Linked DNA regions of Homo sapiens: region 2 is linked to region 1. Evidence: promoter capture Hi-C in 16 types of primary human blood cells and fetal thymus (Javierre and others, 2016). All regions are on one chromosome and are shown on one strand. Each heading gives the region's core, a stretch centred on a gene start or on the middle of the fragment in contact. The rest is flanking DNA. Distances are from core to core; before and after follow the strand shown.

Region 1 (4,994 bases), core at 1,205-3,704:
ATTGCATGCAGGTTTAACATGTTTCATGCCATGTCGCCTTTTGAAATGTGCAAGTCAGCCAGCACTAGCTGATATAACCTTAATATTTTCCTAACCCAGGGTAACATGACTTTGGCTTTCCTCAACAATGCTGTCAACTATGCTTTATTGATCGTCATTTCATGAACCCACCAATGTAGCTGCTTTCTCATCTCTTACATAGCTTCAAGACTATAAATGCTTTCTGTACTTTCTGAAGCAGCTTTGTGCACATATTGGCAAATTTCCTTCTTTTTCTGGTTGTACCATAATTCTGATGCATAACATTGAACTTACAGCCAACAGCATTGTAACTCAGATAACCAGCAAAGTTTATCTGCCTTGTATTTTCTCCATAAAGCACGACATAGTCTTCTCACAGAACACTAAACAGCACCTCAGCACTATGCTTGGGGACCATTTTAAAAAGCAAAATCACCAAAAAGTACAAAAATTAGAAAAATGTGACACTAAACAGACCACGAAAAGGACACCTGTTTACAGTATTAAAGCTGAAAAGGGCTCCTTCAGCCTCAGCTAGAAATACATGCATTGAGTGACAGTTTTTCACTGCTCTGTACGTATTCTTGAATAATCACAAATGCACTGTGAGTAGTGACTTTTAAGTTACAAATAAATTTTATTAAGTAGGTGAAATTCAAACATAAAATCCGCTAATAAGGATTAACTGTATGTGCATAATTTAAACTTCATCCATAAATTTAACCACACCATTTGATTTTACCAGAATCAGGCTCTACCCCACTCCTGACTCTGCCCACTACCCACCCAGTACCTCTGGTAATAGGTGTCTGAGCGTCCACAGGTGGCCCCTGACTTGCGAAAGACTTCGCGGCGCTTCCAGCCAGGGCCCAGGGCCGGGCAGTCCAGCCAGTCCTCAGCCATGGAGGCCACAGGAAGCAGCAGTAGCCTGAAAGGGGGTGGAAGGGATGAGGGAAACTGAGGCTCTAGGAAGGGACAACACTGTGCCCCAGGCCACACAAATCACTGGTATCCATTAGTGCTTGCCCAAGCCCTAGGACCTGCCACAGGCAACCAGCCCATATATGGAAAAGAAACCCCTCATATTCTCACCCCATTCTTTCCTATTCTGGGCCTAGGATATCATCATTCCTCAACCCAAGGATCCCTGTTTCTTATTCTCAGTGTCCTAATCCCCTACTCCTCTCTATCCTCAGACTGACAACCCATCATTTCTCCTCACTGCCAATCCAGAAACTTTTCATCCTTCCCCCTCATTCCTCCCTGTCACTGACCTAAGGGCCTCTATCCCTCTATTTTATCACCCCAAGACCCCCATAGTCCCCATCCTCAGCCCCAAAGGGCCCCATTTCTCTTGCCCTCACTACTTGACTTCAGTAGTCTCTCATTCCCCCCTTCCTTGACCCAGGAGTTCCTAATTTCCCTCCTTCAGTGTTTTAACCACTCCATTCCTTCTCTGCCTGATGTCCTCTTATCCTGCTACCTCAGTGTTACAACCTCGACTTCCTCTGCGAGACACAACTGCTCCAACCCATAGCCTGAACAGCCCCTCATCTTTTCCATTCCTCACACTGGAAGCCTCCCATGCCTCCCCTTCCTCAGCCCAAGACCTCCCCCCTTATTTTTCTTCTCCTTCAATGTTCTCACCCACAATTTCTCCCTAGTCTGAGCTCCCAAACCTTCCTCTACAGCCAAAAAGTTCCCCACTTCTCCTCCTTACTGTTCTCATCCTCCATTCCTCCCTTATCATCCAGAGAGACCCTAATTTCTCCCCTCAGCATTCCGAACCCTCCTCCATTCTCTCTGTTCTTGTCCCGGGATCATGCCATCCCTAACTGTCACCATTCTGATCCCCTACTGCTCCTCGTCCTCTATATGGGGCCTCCTATTCCTCCCTTTCAGCATTCCAAAGCCTCTATTTCTCCTGTCATCAGCCTGAGGGCCCCTCATTTCTCCCTCTCAGAGTTCTGAACCCCCATTTCTCTCTCAACTTCAGATGCCCCGATGTCTCCCTTTAGCGTTCTGATCTCCACCATTCCTCTCCGTCCTCGTCCCAGGATCCCGACACTCCTACCTGTCAGAGTTCAGAGCTGCATTCCTTCCCGTCCTCAGCCTAAATCCCCCCATTTCTCCTCGTCAGTATTCCGACGCCGCCATTCCTCCCCCTTATCGGCCTGAGGGCCCTTCATTCCTCCCCGTCAGCGTTCTGAGCCACAATTCCTTCCCATCCTCCGCCTGAGCGCTCTCCACGTCCAGCCCCAAGGCTGTCTCACCAGTTTGGCACCAGGCCGGTATCTTCCGCCACTCTAGGCCCGTGGACCCATGGCGAGGGTCCCTCCTGCACCTCCCGCCTCGCCCTCCTCCCCTTCCTCCTCCTCCGCGGCCGCCTCCTCTGAAGCGGTAGCTGTCGCCTCCGCGGCTGTTCGTTGCTCCCGGAACCGGAAGTCCGCTGCCTGCCTCTCGGGCTCCGCCTCTGGCTAAGCACCTGCGCACTATTGCCTCGATGTCGCGTGCCCTTAATAGGGAGGCTCCCGCGCCTACGGGCCGGCGCTCCGCAGCGGTGCGCGCGCCCCCCTGCCGAGAGCCAGTTGCATCTGCGTGCTGACGTTCAACGACAGCTAACCCCTTCGAGGGACTGGCAGTTGCGGCTCTCCTCGCTGCCCATCTAGCTGGCGCATGCGCTTTCCAGCCTCAACCTGAAGGGAAGCGGTCGGGGAGGGCTTGCGCCTGCGCCCTCCCTTCCCTCCCGCGGTCTCCACAGCCGATACCGAACGCGGCAAGGAAGCTGCTTCGCGCCTGCGCACTCCCTGGCCCTGCCGGCGCTCTCCTCTCCCACCTCTCGCTGGGGTCTATCCTGTGTTCGTGGGTCCCTCCGAACATCAACCCCAGGGGGGGTCGTGTCCCGCTCCCTCCTCCCCGCCGAACAGCTGTGGGAGCGCGCGGGGCGGGGAAAGGGGCGGTGCCACACCGCAGGTAAACTGAGGCACGCGGGAGGGCGCGCCCCTGCAGGAGGCGGATCCCCAACGTGGGGCTTGTGGGGAAAAGGCGGGGCCTGGCGTCCACAGCGGACGACAGCTCTGGGTGGGAGACAGGAGCATGCATGGGCGGTGTCACCACACTGAAGGCGCGCTGCGTAGACCCTCTGCCCGTGGGAGGCTGGGAATGTGGGTCCCTGGGCTCTCGCGGGGTGCAGGCGCCCCCCATCTTATCCAGAAGTCTGGAACAGTTGCAACCGCAGCAATGTGGAGACAGCTTCCTTGGTTTCTTCAAAATTTTATTAACAAAACCCAGGGAGAGGAGGCAAGGATGAGTGGACTCCGCAGCCCCACCAGGCACTGAACATGTCGACGGGGACAGTCCCTCTGATAAAGGCAGATGGGCGGTCAACCGGTGGATGGGCACAGGGAGAACCGGAGAAACAGATGAGTGGAGGAACGGACACACGGGCACCGGGCGGCTCCCCCATCTGGAATGCAGGGTGTAAGGGGTCCGGGCCAGGAGGCTCAGCGGTCGGCACTGGAGCGCAGGTCGGTAGTGAGGGGATCGTGCTGGATCGTCTGGTGCAGCATCAGGGCCAGCAATCCCGCGCGGTTTGTCATGGCTGTGCGCACATTGCGCTCCTGCTCAAACAGCTCGTCCAGCTTGTACCACTGCCAAGGGAGCGGCAGGAGTCCTAAGCAGGAACACCTGCAGCCCCGCCTGCCCCGGCCACGTCCGACATGGAAACCTACCACATGCAGCACCAAAACCGCACAGAAACCTACCACACGCACGCGCTCCAAGTCCACTTCCGCACGCCGCAGCTTCTCCCAGCAGTAATGGCGATTGCACTGGCGCTTGGGCAGGCGGCAGAAGTCACCCGTGAGCTCAAAGACATCACGTACAAGGGGGCACCCGCATACCTCGTCAGCTGGCACCTGCAAGGAGGCCAGGTTGGGGGGATGAATAGCGGTGATAAGGGAGAATAGGAATGGGGGCTCAAGGAGGGAGAAGGAAAAGAATGGAGGGTTCAGGGAACGGTGAGGAGGCATGGAAAAGGAGGAATGGAGGGTGAAGCAGCAGGGAAGCTGAGAGGAAAAAGTGAAGGAAAAGTGAGGTGAGGAAGGAAGGGATGAATGTGGGACAGCGAGGCAGGGAGGAGGGGCAAAATGGGAGGAGCTGAGGGAAAACCTTACTTTGGGGTCCCGTGAGTGCTCGGGGCACAGCACCTGGAGCCGCTTACAGTATGTTTTGCTCTGAGGATTATACACATCACAGAAGAGTCGTGTGGCCCTGGGGATTTGGAGTAGAGAGGGCAGTAGAGGGAGGGAAGGGAGGTCCATCTGTCCTGGCTGGTTGCCCGTATCCTGCCCCAGCTCCACACACATCCCACTTCTGACCCCCGCCTTAACCCCCCACCTCTCACTGCGTGGCACCCTCACTTACCCTTCAATGCGTGTGGGGTACATGGACCCAAAGGACGTCTGGCTCTCATACTGGAGGGATGAGCACAAATGGAGGGAACTGTGGATGTGCGCTGCATGCCCTCCCAAGACACCACCCAGACAACAAATCTGTCCCCCACTGGCCCACTGATGTTCCCACATGGTCCGCCCCCTCAGTCTGACACCCCAACCTTGGCGTAGCAGCGCTCCATGTGGCGCAAGGCAACACGTGGGTTGATGGGGTGCCCACAGGAAACACAGAAGATCTGCAGGTCTGTGTCATCACTGTCACCCTCGTTGCTCTGCATGGAATGGAAGGAACAATAAGGCTGGGAAGGACAAAGTACAGGCCCTGCTCTGCTGCGCCCCTGCTTGCTCACCTCCTCATCCTCGCGCACAGCCTGCTGCTTGGCACGTAGAATGATGGCCTCAAGCTCATGGAATCGGCGTTCCATTTCCTGAAGGCGAGTGCGGGCACTCTGCTGCTCTCGGCGAATGCGTTCGAGCAGCTTCTTGCCGTGCTCTTCAGCAATGCAAGGGCTCTGCTGC
Region 2 (4,950 bases), core at 2,451-4,950, 2.4 Mb before region 1:
TTTCCATCTAGCTGTCATATCTTAGCATTTTGCAGTACTTGATCAGACATAAGAAATAAGATACGAATACAGCTAAAGCCCCCTATGTATTCCTCTTTGATAACATTTCCCTCCCTCTTGCTTCTCAGAGATTATCACTATCCTGATGTTCCCCCATGGTCATTTAACAGTTTTGCTACATATTGTATCCATACAATACAGTTCTGTACATTTTATAAATTTATATGAAAGTGTGATACTGTTCAGTCCATGCTGATACATACATAATCCTAAATCCTAGTTCATTCATTTTAGCTGTCACATGGCATTCCATTTTATGACTAGCACAGTTCACTGTCCATTCACTCTGGATGACTAGTTAGGTTTCCAATTTTCCTCTCTCACAACCTGCTATGAATAGGCTGGTATATATCATTTTATACCATGTAAAAGCTCTTCTAGGGCAGAAAATTTCAAACTTTCAAACTTTTTAACCAAAAAAAGTCCCACAGTGAAAAGTACATTTTACATGCAACCTAGTATATACACACACACTTTGCTAAAAAAGACATTTCACCATATGCTGCACTCTACAATTTCTCTAAACTGAGGGTCGCGAACCGTGAGTGGGCATGAAATCAATAATTCTAACAAATGTTTACACTAATGTAACCACAATCCCCAAAAAAACAACATTTCCAGCACCTCAGATGTCTCCCTTACGTTCCTTTTCAGTCAATCCACCTTCCCCCGTCAGGCAACTACTGACTTCTATTACTATTAATTTTACCTGTTCCAGAAATTCATATAGATGGAATTATACCGTATGTACTCTTCTGTGTTTTTTAACACCCTTTTGAAAGTTCTCTTGTATTCATTTCCTAAGAATTTTTGTCATGAACAAGTACTAAATGTTATCATATGCTTTCCCGTTGTCCATCAAAATTATCATATGGCCTTTCTCCTTTAATGTGTTAACATGATGAATTTCATTTACGAGTTTTCTAATGCTTAATCATCCCTACATTCCTGAGACAAACCCTAATTAGTCATGGTATTTTTGTTTTGAGTAAATACTAACATTTTACAAACTACAATTTTTATTGCCATGTTCTTTGGTGAGAATGCAGCCTATATCCCCTTCTCACACTATCTGGTTGGGGTATCAAGATTATAGTAGCCTTGCAAAATAATTTTTCTGTAACATTTTGTATAAGATTAGAGTTAATCCCTCACGTTTGGTTGCACTTGCCCATACGGGGTCTTCATTTGTAGTCTGGTGTTTTGCTTGAGGACTTAAAATTTTACATTGGTACAGGTATATTTATTTATTTATTTTGTTTTGTTTTGTTTTGTTTTGAGACAGAGTCTCACTCTGTCGCCCAGGCTGGAGTGCAGTGGCACGATCTTGTCTCACTGCAACCTCTGTCTCCTGGGCTCTGCCTCAGCCACCTGATTAGCTGGGATTACAGGCGACTGCAACCATGCTTGGCTAATTTTTGTATTTTTGATAGAGATAGGGCTTCACCATGTTGGCCAGGCTGGTCTCAAACTGCTGACTTCAAGTGATCGCCCACCTTGGCCTCCCAAAGTGGTAGCCACCATGCCCCGCCTGGTATAGGTATATTTCTAAACATGACTAAGTTTTTAAATCATAATCTAGTGAAGTTTCTAATTCTTATTAAGCCAACTTGGTAATTTGTTTTGCTAGAAATTGTCCACTTTACCTGTTTCCAAATTTAAAGAAATAAAACTGTTCACAGTATTCTTGCAGTTTTAAAATCTCAGTTTGTCTGCAGTTATACCATCCCTTCATTTCCAATACATTTGTACATTCTTTTTCTCCTCTATCAGTCTTGGCACTCTTTTCAACTTAGTTACATGCACTAAATCAAAGACACTATTTTTGTTGTTGTCGTTGTTGAGACAGAGTCTCGCTGACACTATTTTTGTTGTCGTTGTTGAGACGGAGTCTCGCTCTGTCGCCCAGCCTGGAGTGCAGTGGTATGATCTCGGCTCACTGCAACCTCTGCCTCCTGGGTTCAAGCGATTCCCCTTACAGAATGTATCTTCTGTAATTGTTGGGTGCTTGCTAATTGTACTCTTCCAATCCTTCATAACCTTGTAGTTTTTTAAATCTACCCTTTCATAAATTACTGAGAGGTATATTAAAATTTTCTACTACGATTATAGATTTGATTTATACCTGTAATTCTTCCAATTTTACCTTATAAATTACACCTAGTATATCTTTTCCATTCCTTTGCTTTTAAACTATGTCATCATACTTTTAGGAGTATCTCCACTTGTAAAATACAGTTGGTTGGATTTTTTAAATTTTTGTTCTCCTTTAGCCAGCAAGTTTAATCTGAGATTACATATTGGGTTTATGGAGATATTTCAGCTTATTTTCTACCATCTTATTTTGTGTTTTCTAATACCTATGCATTTTTCTTTTCTTTTTTCTTCTTCCCTGCCTTATACTGGAGTGATCAATTTCTCTTTATTTCCACCCCTCATCCCCACTGACTTGGAGTTATACGTTATTCTATTTCAATTCTTTTGGAGAGTTATTGGTAAAAAAATTTTTAATGGAAAACTTTAACTCATCATTGCATTGTAGATGAAAACAGCCTATTGAAAACCATAAAGAATTTTTTTTTTAAGATATGGGTTCTCCCTATGTTGTCTAGGCTTGAACTCCTGGACTCAACCAATCCTCCTGCCTCAGCCTCCCAAAGTGCTAGGATTACAGGCATGAGCCACCACGCCTAACCAAGGGAATTTTTAAAAACCAGAAACCTCATGAGGATAGGGAGAAGAGGTAAGGAGAAAACAGAAGCAAAATTTTAATGGCTGGAAAATGGGTGAGCAGTAATTGAACAGATCAGAAACTACTAACTCTAGGCTAGCTGTAGGAAAAGCTGAAAACCATTGATTAACACAGAAACCTCAAAAAGTTAAGGAACCAACAGCAAGTCACGGCAGGAACTGAGGGCCAGGCAGGGGAAGGAATAATAGGTAGCACTTGTTAAGAGCTTTGTAGAAAGGAATTCAGTTCTTAGATTTCCGCCCCTACTGTCTCTGGATAACTAATCCTCTGCCTCAACGTTTACTTTCTGCAAAGGGGAAAACAAAATCCCTGGACTAGGAGATGGCCTGGGTATAAGTAGGAAGAAAAGAGGGTGTGAATGAACATGAGCACGCTGTGTTAAATGTCGACTCCCAAACCCCTTCCTCCACTGGGTTTTGGCTCCCAAATACTAGCAGCCAGACCTCCGCCCAGTTATTCAGATCAAAAGACTTCACTAGGGTACCTGACCGACCCAGGAGGAAAGGCATATAGATGCTAATATTGGGAGTTTACCAACAAACAGCCTGCCTGCTCAGATCCCTCTCCAGTGAAACTGAAAGGAGACAAGTTTCACCCACATGTTGAGTTTTTGATCAGCTTTTTAGATCCCCACTTCTTAAGAATTACTTTATCTGAGGAAAAACGTCAAACAAAACCAGAAAAATTCAGCTTCAGGAAAAGACTATACAGAGAAAGAAAACATTTTTAAAACATCAACATGGCCAGAGAAATAAGACTGAGCAACCCTGAAGAAAGAGCAGCATGCTCTCAAAGGCAGCATTCAGAGAACTTAACAGCTCTTGCATAGCTTGACAGCAGAAACGGGGGAAAAAAATCAATAGAAGTGCTAGAAGATAAAGTAGAAGAAATCTTCCAGAAAGTAGAAAAGAAAGATGGGAAACAGTAGAGAAAATGAAAAAAATTGGAAGACTGGTTCCAGAGGTCCAATGTCCCAACAACAGTTCCAAACAGAGATGCAGAGTAGGGGAGTCAAATAGATAAATTAAGAAAAAGCCCCTGAACTGAAAGATGGGAGTTTCTAGATGGAAAGGGCCCATCAAGACCCCAGTAAAACAGATGAAAACAAACCTACATGAAGGCCCATGGTAGCAAAACCAGAATGCCAAAGACAAAGAAAGGGCTTAAAGTTTCCAAGGAGGAAAAAAAATAGGTTATATAGAAAACAATCAAAATGGCTTTGGTTTTGTCAACAGTATACTGTAAACAAAGTCAAGAGAGCAATGGCTTCGTAATTCTGGGCTTCATAATTTTTCAAAAAAAAATTTCCAACCTAGACTTATGTTAGCCAGAACAAAGGCATTTTCAGACATGCAACATCTCCAAGTATTTACCGCCCCACCCCCAACACACTCTCCAGGAAGGTCCTGAAGAATATGTCTCATCAAAAGGAGATACTAGTAAAACAAAAAGGAATACGATCTACACTCGAACCCAGGAGTGCAAGGCTGCAGTGAGCCATGATCACCCTACTACACTCCAACTAGACAACAGAGTGTGACCTTGTCTCAAAAAAAAAAATACACACACACACACACACACACACACACACACACACACACACACACACACAAAGAATAGGAGATCTAACAAAGAAGAAAAAATGAAGGCAATCCCTAATATGCTAGTGAGGGGGAAATCTCAGAATGACTGCGGCGTACTAGGTGTAGAGGCAACCAGTGCAAATCGGAGCAAGCTAAAAAAGACGAAGCCAAAACAACGGCAGCCTTCTCTCCAAAGTGAACACTGTAGAAGTCAATGGAAGCATAACCTTCACTGATTAGAGCCAAATGATAAATGGATGGGGGTGACTGATGGGGCCATAAAGAACAGCTTTGTACCACTCTTTACCAATATCTCAGCAGATTTCTGATTCCAAAGATTACAACGCAAAAGAAAAAAATTTTGCCTAAGTGGAATTCTTATGTTAGTACATGTTTATATATGTATGGATTTCTTTAGACCAGTGCTATCCAACAGAAACAGGATGCAAACCACATATTGTTAAATTTTCTATCAGCCACATTAAAAAAGTAAAAATTGGTGTGCTTTAGTCAGTTCAGGACGGTATAACAAAGTACTACAGACTAGGTGGCTTA

What was found. Contacts are between HindIII fragments. The CHiCAGO score rates a contact against its expected background, and 5 or more counts as called.
Region 2: a contact is called between a fragment that was not itself captured here and the fragment with the promoter of MBD1 in region 1, in 1 of 17 cell types (neutrophils). The highest score is 6.6, in neutrophils.

The regions. Positions count from the first base shown.
Region 1 is chr18:50,279,069-50,284,062 of GRCh38, forward strand. MBD1 (methyl-CpG binding domain protein 1) reads right to left here and starts at 2,455. Exons shown (of 17, transcript NM_015846.4): 1 at 2,295-2,455; 2 at 815-949. The coding sequence starts at 924. CXXC1 (CXXC finger protein 1) reads right to left here. Exons shown (of 15, transcript NM_014593.4): 10 at 4,826-4,994; 11 at 4,637-4,747; 12 at 4,447-4,496; 13 at 4,197-4,293; 14 at 3,786-3,938; 15 at 3,279-3,671. The coding sequence ends at 3,525. RefSeq lists silencers at 2,188-2,267, 2,278-2,387 and enhancers at 2,533-3,113, 3,114-3,694. The HindIII fragment of the contact is 20,722 bases long and covers 1-4,994 here.
Region 2 is chr18:47,915,097-47,920,046 of GRCh38, forward strand. All of the region lies in intron 1 of SMAD2 (SMAD family member 2), which reads right to left. Among named protein-coding and RNA genes, the nearest start is that of SMAD2, 13 kb to the right of the region's middle. RefSeq lists an enhancer at 3,268-3,880. The HindIII fragment of the contact is 8,355 bases long and covers 1-4,950 here.